3 separate regions of the Homo sapiens genome follow, and regions 1 and 3 are each linked to region 2. Evidence: promoter capture Hi-C in human tissues and cell types (Jung and others, 2019). All regions are on one chromosome and are shown on one strand. The core of a region is centred on a gene start or on the middle of the fragment in contact, and the rest is flanking DNA. Distances in the headings are between cores, read along the strand shown.

Region 1 (3,450 bases), core at 563-3,062, 440 kb after region 2:
ATCACTCATTCATTACTCATTCATTTATTCTCTTTCCTTTCTCTTCTCCCTCCTTGTCTCCTCTCCTATTCACTCCCTCTCCTTTCACCAACTCTCCCCTCCTCTCCTTCACTGAGGAGGCAGGCAAGATCAGACACCCAGCTGGGGGCTGGGCATAAAGAAACATGCATCTGACCTTTTCTACATGACAACTGTGGAAGTCTGCTGCTAAATCTTTCATATGATCTGCAATTCTTTTTTCCCACCTACAGATTACTCCACGCTTCCTAGCTCTTGTCATAAATCCACAGATGCCTCATTTCACAATAAGGAAAACTGAGCCAAGACGGGTTTTAGTGACTCATTTAAAATCTCACTGCTGCTTATGGCACCTCTGATTATCATCCCCAAATAAAGTTTAAAAGCCACCACATCATGGGCTATTTTAAAAGATAAACTTAGGCACATTAAAACTTTAAAGAGTATATTTGAGTAGACAGGAATTCATGAATCAATAACACTGGACCACCCATGGTTCAGCACTCCACTGTGGGGGACCCGGGAGGCAGAGAGAGGAAAATTTTATAAGGTGTTTGGGGAAGTAAAAAATATTTACTTTTATATAAAAAAAAATTTGGCTAAAGTGGAAAGTTCCTAGTTAGAGGTTAACTGGTGGTTTCTGATTGGTTAAGCTTAAGTTTCATTTTTCTGTTTATATTGAGCTTAGGTTTGCTTTTGCAGGAATCTGAGGCACAAGAGTCTTCTCAGCCTAATGGACTCACAATTTTTTTTTCTTTTTAACAGCTACAGTCCATTTACAGGTTAATCTTTAGGTGAACTCTGGAGCTGAGTTCAAAGTCTTCCTTGTAATCCTGGGAAAGAAGAAATGAGAGGCCAGACCTGGCAATTTCTGAGCCATGGTCAGAGAGCAAAATATGAGGATCATGTTGACTGTAGACCTAATGCATTTTTATTTTAAAATCCTTTTTCTTAACGAATCCAGACCATTGAAATCTATCTGTAATGGGTTTGCAATTCTACTGGATTTCCTACCCTCACTCTTTTAAATATTGATTTGATATTGCCTTTAAAAGTTATATTTGGAGCTTGGAGGATTTTAGACTTCTAATATAATATTCAGTAAAAATTGAAATATGGAGGAGATGTGATGAAATAGCTGGTGACAGCAACTTCCACAGTGTTCAGTTCATTTTAGAAACAATATGAATGATTATTAAATGAATATGTTGCTCTGTGTATATACATTTATATATAAAGTCCCATCAAAAGTGGGAAAATGACATTTATAATAGCAATATTAAATGTAACTATTAAATATAAATATTGAGTCAAATTAACAACTAGTAGGGTTTTCATTTTTCTTTTGCAGTGATTTTTCTTTTGACATGAATGCCTGAATGGTTTCTGCCCTAAGCTGAATAAAGGGCAAGGCTTCCCCTCTGGCTGCCGGGCTGGGTGACCAGACCGCACACTTCAGTGCACCTGTGAAAAGCAGATTATGAGCCGTGTTAGTCTTGCGGCGTCTGTTCTGGAGAAGGCTGTATTAGTCTTAAGGCCCCGAGAAGGCTGTGTTAATATTAAGGCACGTGTTCACTGTTGGGAGAGGAACAGCCTTTTGCTCAAAATGCTTGATTTATTGCAGGAACAAGCCAGCTTTCTGAGCAAGTCTGTCTGGCTTCTAGGGTGAGTTAGAAAAATAATCTAAATGGATCTATTACAAGCATAGAGACTGAGGCATGTCAAACAAGACAGTAGAAACCTAGCGCACCAGCCATATAGAAAGGAAGGGGCTATGGGCATTTGTTCTAAGTCTATAAAAAGGGTAATTACTTTGGAAAGTAGTTCATTTTCTGCCTCATAAAGGCAGCAGTAGATTAGTTATAAATAAGTAATGGCTCATAATTCATTAAAAGCAAGAGGAGGGAAAAAGTTTTAAGGAAGCATGAGTTTTAAGGATAACCTTTAAAATTCAAGACAATGCACTGGGACAGCAAAAGTCCCTCCCCAAACATGCATCAAAATAACCAAAAGGAGACATTGAGCTCCACATAACGGCAGTTTCTTCCAGCTCCCATCTGCAGTGGGCACATTCCTGGGTGTCGTCCTTCTTCCGTATGCACAGGCAGAACACCACACTTGGAATCAGAAGAATTAAATTCAAGTTGCTCCCTGTAATCTTAGACAAATCACTTAATGTCCTTCAGCCTCAGTTCTTCAGTTGCAAATGAGATAACAGCACCTGACTGACAGAGGGGTTTAAAGCTGCTTGTTTTATTCACTCAACAAACACACGATTTGTAATTGAAGTCCTATTTTGTTCCACGTCCTGGGGAAGGTGCTGAGGATGAATCCAGTGCCCCAGAATTCAAAGTACCTCCCTCCAGGGCTCACCCTAGACCAGCAGGGTCTGAATCTCTGGGTGTAGGGCCCAAGCATTGGTTTTTGGCTTTTTGTTTTTGAGACAGTCTTGCTTTGTTGCTCAGGCTGGAGTGGAGTGGTGTGTTTGTGGCTCACTTTAGTTTCAACCTCCTGGACTCAAGCAATCCTCCTTGCCTCAGCCTCTCAAGCAGCTGGGACCACAGGCATGCACCACCATGCTCAGCTAATTTTTAAAATGTTTGTAGAGACAGGTCTCACCGTATTGCTCAGGCTGGCACTAGTGTTTTTTACAAGATCCCCGAGTGAGCTCAGGGCTAAAGATTACAGGTGTAGGCAATAGTGGTAAGTATCCTAATGGAGGTAACATTAAATGGAAGTCAAGAGAGGCTTCAGTGAGCTAAGTCTTGAAGGAGGAGTGAGAGTTTGCCAGCAGAGGGAACCCAGTGAACAAAGGCAGGGTGCATTTGATCTGGTAGTTCAGAGTGGCTGAAGCCTGGGATGCATTTACTCAGGCTTGGGAGATGAGTTTGAGGTAGCAGTGAAGGCATAATGCTTGGGCAAAGGAGTGCTGGGCTCTCACAAACGCAATGGAAGTCCCTGCAGGTTTTAATATTGATATACTAGGAAAGTGGGGAAAGGATGCCCTATTCAATAAATGGTGCTGGGGAAACTGGCAAGACACATGTAGAAGAAGGAAACTGTATCCTCATCTCTCGCCTTATAAAAAATCAACTCAAGATGGATCAAAGACTTTTAAGTCTAAGACCTGAAGCCATAAAAATTCCAGAAGAAAGCATTGGAAAAACTCTTCCAGGCATTGGCTTAGGCGAAGAATTCATGACTAAGACCCCAAAAGCAAATGCAACAAAAACAAAAATAAATAGATGTGACCCAATTGAACTAAAAAGCTTCTGCACAGCAAAAGAAATAATCAGCAGAGTAAACAGACAACCCAGAGTGGGAGAAAATCTTCACAATCTATGCATCCAAAAAAGGACAAATATCCAGAATCTACAAGGAACTCAAATCAGCAAGTAATCCCGTCAAAAATTGGGCAAAAGATAAGAATAG
Region 2 (3,513 bases), core at 166-2,665:
GAAGGTGCGTGGGGAGAAGTCATTCTTTGGGTTTCTCCTAACCCTTCCTAACCCCTCAACGCCTGTCTCGTCTCACAATTTGTCAGACTGATTGATTTTCCCCTATTTCCTTTCAGGTCCGCTCCTCCTCCCCGGTCGCCCTGAGCCGCGTCCTCCTGTGTACTGGGTCCTGCGTGCCCAGCACTCATTCTCTTTGACCGAGCTCTTTCAAGCCCCCCTCCCCCCTCCGCCCCTTCCCCTACCCCCCTGGAGCCTCCGTCCCTCGGTCTGTCCATCACCAGCTGGCGGTAAGGGATACTTACTTGAGCCCTAAGCCATTCAAGTGCTGTCCTATTAGCCTAATGACATCCTCATCTGACTGGGAGAGCCGCTTCTTCTTCTTGAGGCTGCTGCCCAGTTCTGGGGTGGCCAAGGAAGAGGAGGCGGCGGTGGTGGCGGAGGCAGCTGCGACGGTGGCTGAGGATGCGGCGGCCGCCCCGCCGGGAACCCCGTTATTGACATTCAGGCTGTTGCTATTGTTGCTGGCGGCGGAGGGGGCGGAAGGCAGGAGCCCATTGGCGTGGGCCAGGTCCCCCGCGGACGACGACGACGAGGGGGACGACTCCCCGTTCTGGGCCGACAAGCAGGCGAGTTCCGGGGTCTGTCCCTGGCCCCCGCCGCCCCCTCCTCCTCCACCGCCGCCGCCGCCACCTCCTCCTCCTCCTCCTGCCCCATTGGCCTGCATGATGCTGCCGCTGACCAGGCTGTGGCCGCTACTTCGGTGGGGGACAGCAGCGGCGGCGGGAGGGGCAGCAGCCGGGGGAAGTCCCACCACTACCACCACGGAGGAGGAGGAGGAGGAGGAGGACGAGGACGACGAGGACGGAGGGGAGAGGCCTGCTCTGCCTGCCGAAGCCCCGGGCTCTCCTACTCCCTCCGCCGCCGAGGCTCGGGGTTTCTTCCGCGGGGGCGGGGAGGCTCCGCCGGTGTCCGAGTCGGAGGAGGAGGAAGCGGAGGCCAGAGTTTCCTCGCCGAGAGAGGCCGTGGTGGGAAGCCGGTGGGGCGAGGCGGGGGAGGGGAGGCGGGGGCCGGGGAGAGGGTCGGGGTGAGGGGGGCCGGGGAGGCGGGGAGGGGGTCAGGGTAGGAGGGTGAGGGTGAGGGTGAGAGGAGGGGGAGGAGGAGGAGGGGGAGAAGGAGGATCCGGGCCCTTTCCCCCCCCCCTCCCGGAGGCAGCTCGGGGTGCGCGGCCCGGGGGTCGCGCCGGGGGGCGCCGCGGGGCGGCTGCGGGGGCGCGGGGCCCGCCGCTGGGCTGAGCCCCGGCAGTGGCTGCGGCGGCGGCGGCGGCGGGCGGCAGCGGAGGCAGCTGCCGCCTCTGTCCTCGGATCCGCTCCGCTCTGCTCCCTGGTGTGTTGATTCTTCCCCCAGCTGCTGCCTAATGGAGTCCAGGCGCTCGCGTCACAGGAAATGCCTATACTGCCCTCCTCACTCACTTCCGGTGGCAGGTATGGAACCTATAGGGGGCCTGTCACCCAGCACGTGCATCGGGGGCTGTCCCGGGGGTCAGGGGAGGGAGGCCAGCGGGCCGGCGGGGTCCGCCCCGACCCCATCCACGACCCCGACTCCTATCCGATCCTATCCCCGGCCCCGCTCGGGCCTTTCCCCTTGCGCCCTGGCTCGGCTGGCTCGACGAGCAGTAAGTTCGTAGCCGCCCTCCGAAGCCGGGCGTGCATGGGATGGCAGAGTTGGCGTGCGTGCGTGAGTCCACCAGTGTGGCATGGGCATGTAAGGTGCGCGGAGGGACTGCACCTTCTCCATCAGGTGCAGAAGGTGAGGATGGGGCAGGGGGCTAGGAGCTTCGACAGGCAGGAACTTCCAGGCACAGGGCTGTGGTAGGCCCCTCTCAATGGTAACCAGGACCGAAATCGGGTTTCACAACCTACTTGTTTTAGGGTGGAAAAACTTGAATTTCCACAGCCAAGTGCCACACAGTTGCTGTACCCGGGGCCATCCCGGGAGCTGTGAGATAATGAGCCGGTGAGACTCTGCTCCACCCTGGGAAGGGGAGTTAGTCTAGAGGAGCATATCTTATGGGGACAAGAAGTCACAAAAAGGCTGTGTGGTGTGTAGAGAAGGGGAGGGACTCTGCTGTTGAGGCTTCACTCTTTTTTAGCACTTGCCCAGCACCTCCTTCTCTCTTCCAGCTGCCTCTTGAGTCACTGCCCAGTTTAGGGAGCAGTAACATAAACCAAACAGTTGCCTCCAAAATATGCATTCTGAGAAGGATTCAGGCACCCATTCAGATCCAGGCTTGAAATTTTTACGTGGCATGTGAGCCTTCTGTGTCATCATGACTTACCAATTTATGTGAATGTAGAAATGCAGCAACAAAGACTGGGCTGAATCTTAATCATTGGCAAATGGTGTGCATTATCCCCAAACAATTATTTTCATGTATGTGGTTGATAGCATCTATACTCAATATGTATAAAGATTTTCTCAGAAATTTAAAGTCTTTCTCTGAAGTAGTTTTCCTGTGGGGAGGGGAAAAAAAACACCTTAGTTTCTAATTAATACATCATACATCGCTGATATTTATTATAGTAATAACTGAAAGTAATTTTGAGGCCTTTGGAGACAGTTGTTTTTAAATTTGGAAATACAATAAAAAATGATGCTGATGAGAAATTAGTAAAGAATCCTGAGGTTTATGGATCCTCAGACAGGAAGAAGTAAGAGGAAGGTCAATGCAGGATCTTACAGGGATTTGGTTTTGTAGTTCTTACTGCTTAAATTTGCTTCCAGGTGGCAGCTGTAATTGCAAGGTGACTCACATACAGTGTTTATATTCACCTGAGGCCGACCTGAGTTCTAGTTGAGGTTCATAGAGCTCTGTCACTGTATCCAGCAGAGCCTGAATTACTAGATAGTTAACACCCTCAGAGAGCCCTGTTTGTATATTAACTTTAGACAACCTTATTATTAAAAGTGTTGTTTAGGCAAAATTTAATTTTTGCAAAATGGTTTATAATAATTTATTAGGCCCATAGCAACATTGAAGACTTGCTTCTGAATAAAGACTGTAGGTTTTATAAAGGAAATCAGTCACTTCATGGCAGCTACAGACAAAGCTCACACTTCATTAACAAAAGTAAAATGATGAAAAATAAATTGGATTCCATTGCTATCTAAACTCTATATTCCAGTTTTTCTAATTTTTAGGTAACCAACACTGCTCGTGTTAGAATTCTGAATTTATAAAGTCCCTTACAGAACATTTTTCTCTGTACTAAAACACAGCTTGAGAATCTGTTATCTGAACTCTGGGTCTTTAGGTCTTTCTAAAGCCAAGTTTCAGGTCTATGTGCAGATGAACAATTCTGAAATACCACTCTACACACTGAGGAACCTTCAGTAACACCACATTACCTACAGAATAAAATCCAAATTCTGTCTTGCTCACCACAGGTTGCTTTCAGTCTTTCTTTTTGGCTTCATCTCTTATTGCTCCTCTTCAGGGACCTGTCTACTGTCCGC
Region 3 (3,536 bases), core at 463-2,962, 290 kb after region 2:
TCGGGAGGCTGAGGCAGGAGAATCACTTGAACCTGGGAGGTGGAGGTTGCAGTGAGCCAAGATCGTGCTACTGCACTCCAGCTTGGGTGACAGAGCAAGACTCTATCTCAGAAAAAATAATAATGATAATAATGATCACAACACAATAACAATAGTGGTGTCTTCTTTTGCTGGAGGCTTCTTCACTTTTGAGAGCACTGTCATTCATAGTACATCCTGTGTCCCTGGCTGGTAGGTATGGCATTTTACAGATGGGTAAAATAAGACTCAGCATGGGTAGCTGCTTTTCTAAATAGCACACAGTTGAGTATTATGTAACTGTAGGAATTTATATAATGCTTTGAGACACTGGGCTAATATATTGAGACTTATGGGATTACAGCTGTAAAGCTTGTTGTCTGAGTCGACAGGGGCATTCAGAGATGGGTAGAGACTCTGAGTCTCACAGCTTCTACTGTCTTCAAGATAAACTCAGTGCCAGGAGCTTCCCTGTGGCTTCCATAGCTGTGACTTTTAAAGTGTTTGGTCCCAGGCATGCTGACACCAGCCCCTCAGAAAACCTATGCCCTTGGAATGCATGATGAGAGCCAGGAGCAGACGGATCTCCAACAACAGGGGCGCTTGCTGCCTCTTCATCTCCCTCATCTTCTCCCTTCCCCTGGTCTTAAGGAATCCCTTTTCTCCACCAGGAGCATTATTCCCTTGCTTCAACTCCAAGCATCCCCTTCCTACTTCTTTTCCTTTAGGGGTAAGAAGAATCTCTCCCACAACCCCTGATGCCCCTCTCCACCACAGTAGTAAAAATAAGACAGGACTTGGCACACGATTCTATTGTTTTCATAATCTATAAAGGGTACCAATCAGCTGCAGGTCATTGATGGGATAAAACAGCAAACAAATGGATACATGAATGAATGAGAGGATACATAACTAGAAATAAAATATTTAGAATGCAGACAAGTAAAATTCCTGGAAAAACAAGATTGTGGACAATGGCTTACAGCTGAGCTGAGCATGGCATATACTGCTCTGTTGGGTGGAGGGCACATGTGTGCAGGGATGGAAACCTGCTAGAAGGTTCTTGCACCAGCCTGGAGAGGAGGTCCAGGGGCAGGATAAATAAAAAGGAAGGAACAAATGCAAGTGGCTGTGAAGAAGCAAGATTTGGAAACAGACTTACATGGAGACTGATGAGAAGAAGGAGTCAGAGATGGTATGGTTAGTAGAAGTTGGAAATTTAGGAGATAAAGTTTGCAGGTACTGATAGGAATGTGAATTTCAGCACAAAGTGGTTGTGGGATATCCAGGTGGAAATGTTTGCCAGCAAATGAAAATTGACTATTAGCATCTGGGTAGGAAGTCAGGACAGGTGGAATACAGTTAGCGTTTACACAGTCCTTACCGGTTATCATTAATGTCCTTTAATAGGGGCCCTTTGAGGTGGCCTTGTTAAGGAGCCACCCCAGACCAGTGACTTCCATCTCTCTATGCTTTTGCTTTCACTGTTCCACTTCTAGGATGCCGACCTCTGGTTCCCATAAGTGATTAGGTTTTACTCGCCCTTTCCAACTTCCCTTTGATCACAAACCTTCCATGATCCCCCTGGTTGGAATGAATTGCAGTCTTTCAGTAATCCCACAATACTTATATTGAGATTTAGGATTTATGACTCTAGAAAGCAGGGTAATAATACATGGCAATTCAATAGGCTGTGGCTTGCATGAAATAGTTTCTCCATTTGTTGAAAGAATGAGATTGGCACCATTCAACAGCTTCTCTTATTAAAAAAAAAAAAGTGTTTTCCAAAGCTAAGGGATGACTCAGGGTCATGGGGCTGTGGTGAGCGCTTGCATCAGCATCTCTGTATTTTGCTTAGAAGCTTTAGGGGTGGTCCTTATATAACAGACACTCTCAGAGTTGGGAGGGAACGCCTGGTCTGACTGCCCACACAAATGAATGAGCATTATGCCTGCCTGGTGGTTATTCAGCCCCTGCCCGAGCATGTCCGGTGACAGGGAGCTGTGTCCTGCCGGCCTCGATGGCTTGTTAAGGAAGGGCTGAGTGGATGGTTGGGGGAGGATAAACAGTGAAGAGCACAACTTTGCTTTTCCCATTGATTACTCAGTCTGGGGCTTGCTGATGGTATCATATGAGATAGGTTAAATCATGCTATGGCAAAACAACAACAACAACAACAACACTCAACTCTTGGCAGCTTAAAACAACACAAGTTTCTTTACTGCTCACACTCTAGTCCATCATGAGTTGCCTGGGGGCCTCTTTCCTTACTTGTGGCTTCAGGATGATGGAGTACCCACCATCCTAAATGCTTTTTGCTTTGTCAGAGGAAAAGGAAAAGAGACTCTGGAGAATTTTGTATCAGCCGTTAAGTGGTCTGGCCTTCTCTCCACATCACTTCTGCCCACAGCCCATCAGCAGCCCCAACCCCTGAGAGCTGGAAAATGAGACCTTACCACCTTCCAGAAGGCTGAGTGCTGGGTGTGAGTGGAGGCAGCCATAATGGCTATGGTGCAGGCCTCATGCAAATGGCCTGGCTGATTTCCATTTGGTCTAGAAGGAAGAGGTTCCTTACCTCTTCCACATCATTGTGACAAGAAGCAGCTGGTGAAGTAGGCAAGGATCAGTGTGTGTATCAAAAGGTCACTGTCACTCCTAAAAGTCTCTGGATTAATTGGAGGAGCCTCTTCTACTTGTAAGGATCCTGTTCAGTGTTCTAGGCATAAGAGGTCATCTAGAGAAGCCACCTGAAATGGCAGAATAAATTCTTCAGCTTTTTTCCCAACCTCCAAAAGGCTGGAGACCTCCGTGACTAGCTGGCCTGCATTAAGCAGTTTTCCTCTACGTGGAGACAGTGATGAATCCTCCCTGCTTGGAAGGTTGCAGCCTCCACAATAAATCAAGCCCCAAAGAGAGAAGAAGCAGTGGTGATTAAGAGTGGGACCTGAAATCCAAACTGTAATCAGTCAGAGATTTGTCATTGGAATTGGAGATGGAGATGGAGAAATAATGGATGATTCAGGCCCACGGTGGCTGTCTCTAAACATGTTAATTGCCTCAGCTTAAGTGGCTGAAACTGATGATTAGAAAATGTAGAGATGTGCATAGCAGAACTCACAGCCACTGCCTCCCGGGGCTGGCGCACCCAGCTCTGAGAAAGTGGGCTTTCTCTTTGAATGGGAGGGGGTAGGGTGATGCCTTGGCTGGGGGTAGATAGGATTGGTTATCACAGCTCTGAGGTCCTATAAGGAGATACAATAGGGACATGGCGTGCCCCCTCCTGCCAGGTGGTTGAGATTCACAGGGGCTGGTGGTACCTGCTTCACCCACCAAGGGTCACCACCTCTGGAATGATGGCTCCTTTGCTCTGATTCCTCAGGTGATTGCCTGAGAAGTCTAAGGTGAGGGTTAATGCAATTCATCTACACTGGACTTTGAGAATAAAGAAGGTGCCCCATAGTTACAAAATGTCTTACACGTGTGCTGTGCATGTCTTTATTTTTAATGTGTGCGTATGT

Evidence for each region. The method cuts DNA at HindIII sites, captures the fragments that hold promoters and counts their contacts. A contact is called where the count stands out against the background at its distance.
Region 1: a contact is called between a fragment that was not itself captured here and the fragment with the promoter of WDR26 in region 2, in 1 of the 25 tissues and cell types used here (H1 embryonic stem cells).
Region 3: a fragment that was not itself captured here is called in contact with the fragment with the promoter of WDR26 in region 2 in 1 of the 25 tissues and cell types used here (mesendoderm cells).

What each region holds. Positions count from the first base shown.
Region 1 is chr1:224,873,430-224,876,879 of GRCh38, forward strand. No RefSeq gene overlaps it. Among named protein-coding and RNA genes, the nearest start is that of DNAH14, 55 kb to the right of the region's middle. The HindIII fragment of the contact is 4,981 bases long and covers 1-3,450 here.
Region 2 is chr1:224,433,382-224,436,894 of GRCh38, forward strand. WDR26 (WD repeat domain 26) reads right to left here and starts at 1,416. Exons shown (of 14, transcript NM_001379403.1): 1 at 303-1,416. The coding sequence starts at 1,024. It also overlaps a transcript of CNIH3 not described here. RefSeq lists a silencer at 1,395-1,794 and an enhancer at 2,135-2,324. The HindIII fragment of the contact is 17,142 bases long and covers 1-3,513 here.
Region 3 is chr1:224,725,101-224,728,636 of GRCh38, forward strand. The region is part of intron 3 of CNIH3 (cornichon family AMPA receptor auxiliary protein 3); the gene reads left to right. The region is part of intron 1 of CNIH3-AS1 (CNIH3 antisense RNA 1); the gene reads right to left. Among named protein-coding and RNA genes, the nearest start is that of CNIH3-AS1, 3.7 kb to the right of the region's middle. The HindIII fragment of the contact is 5,372 bases long and covers 1-3,536 here.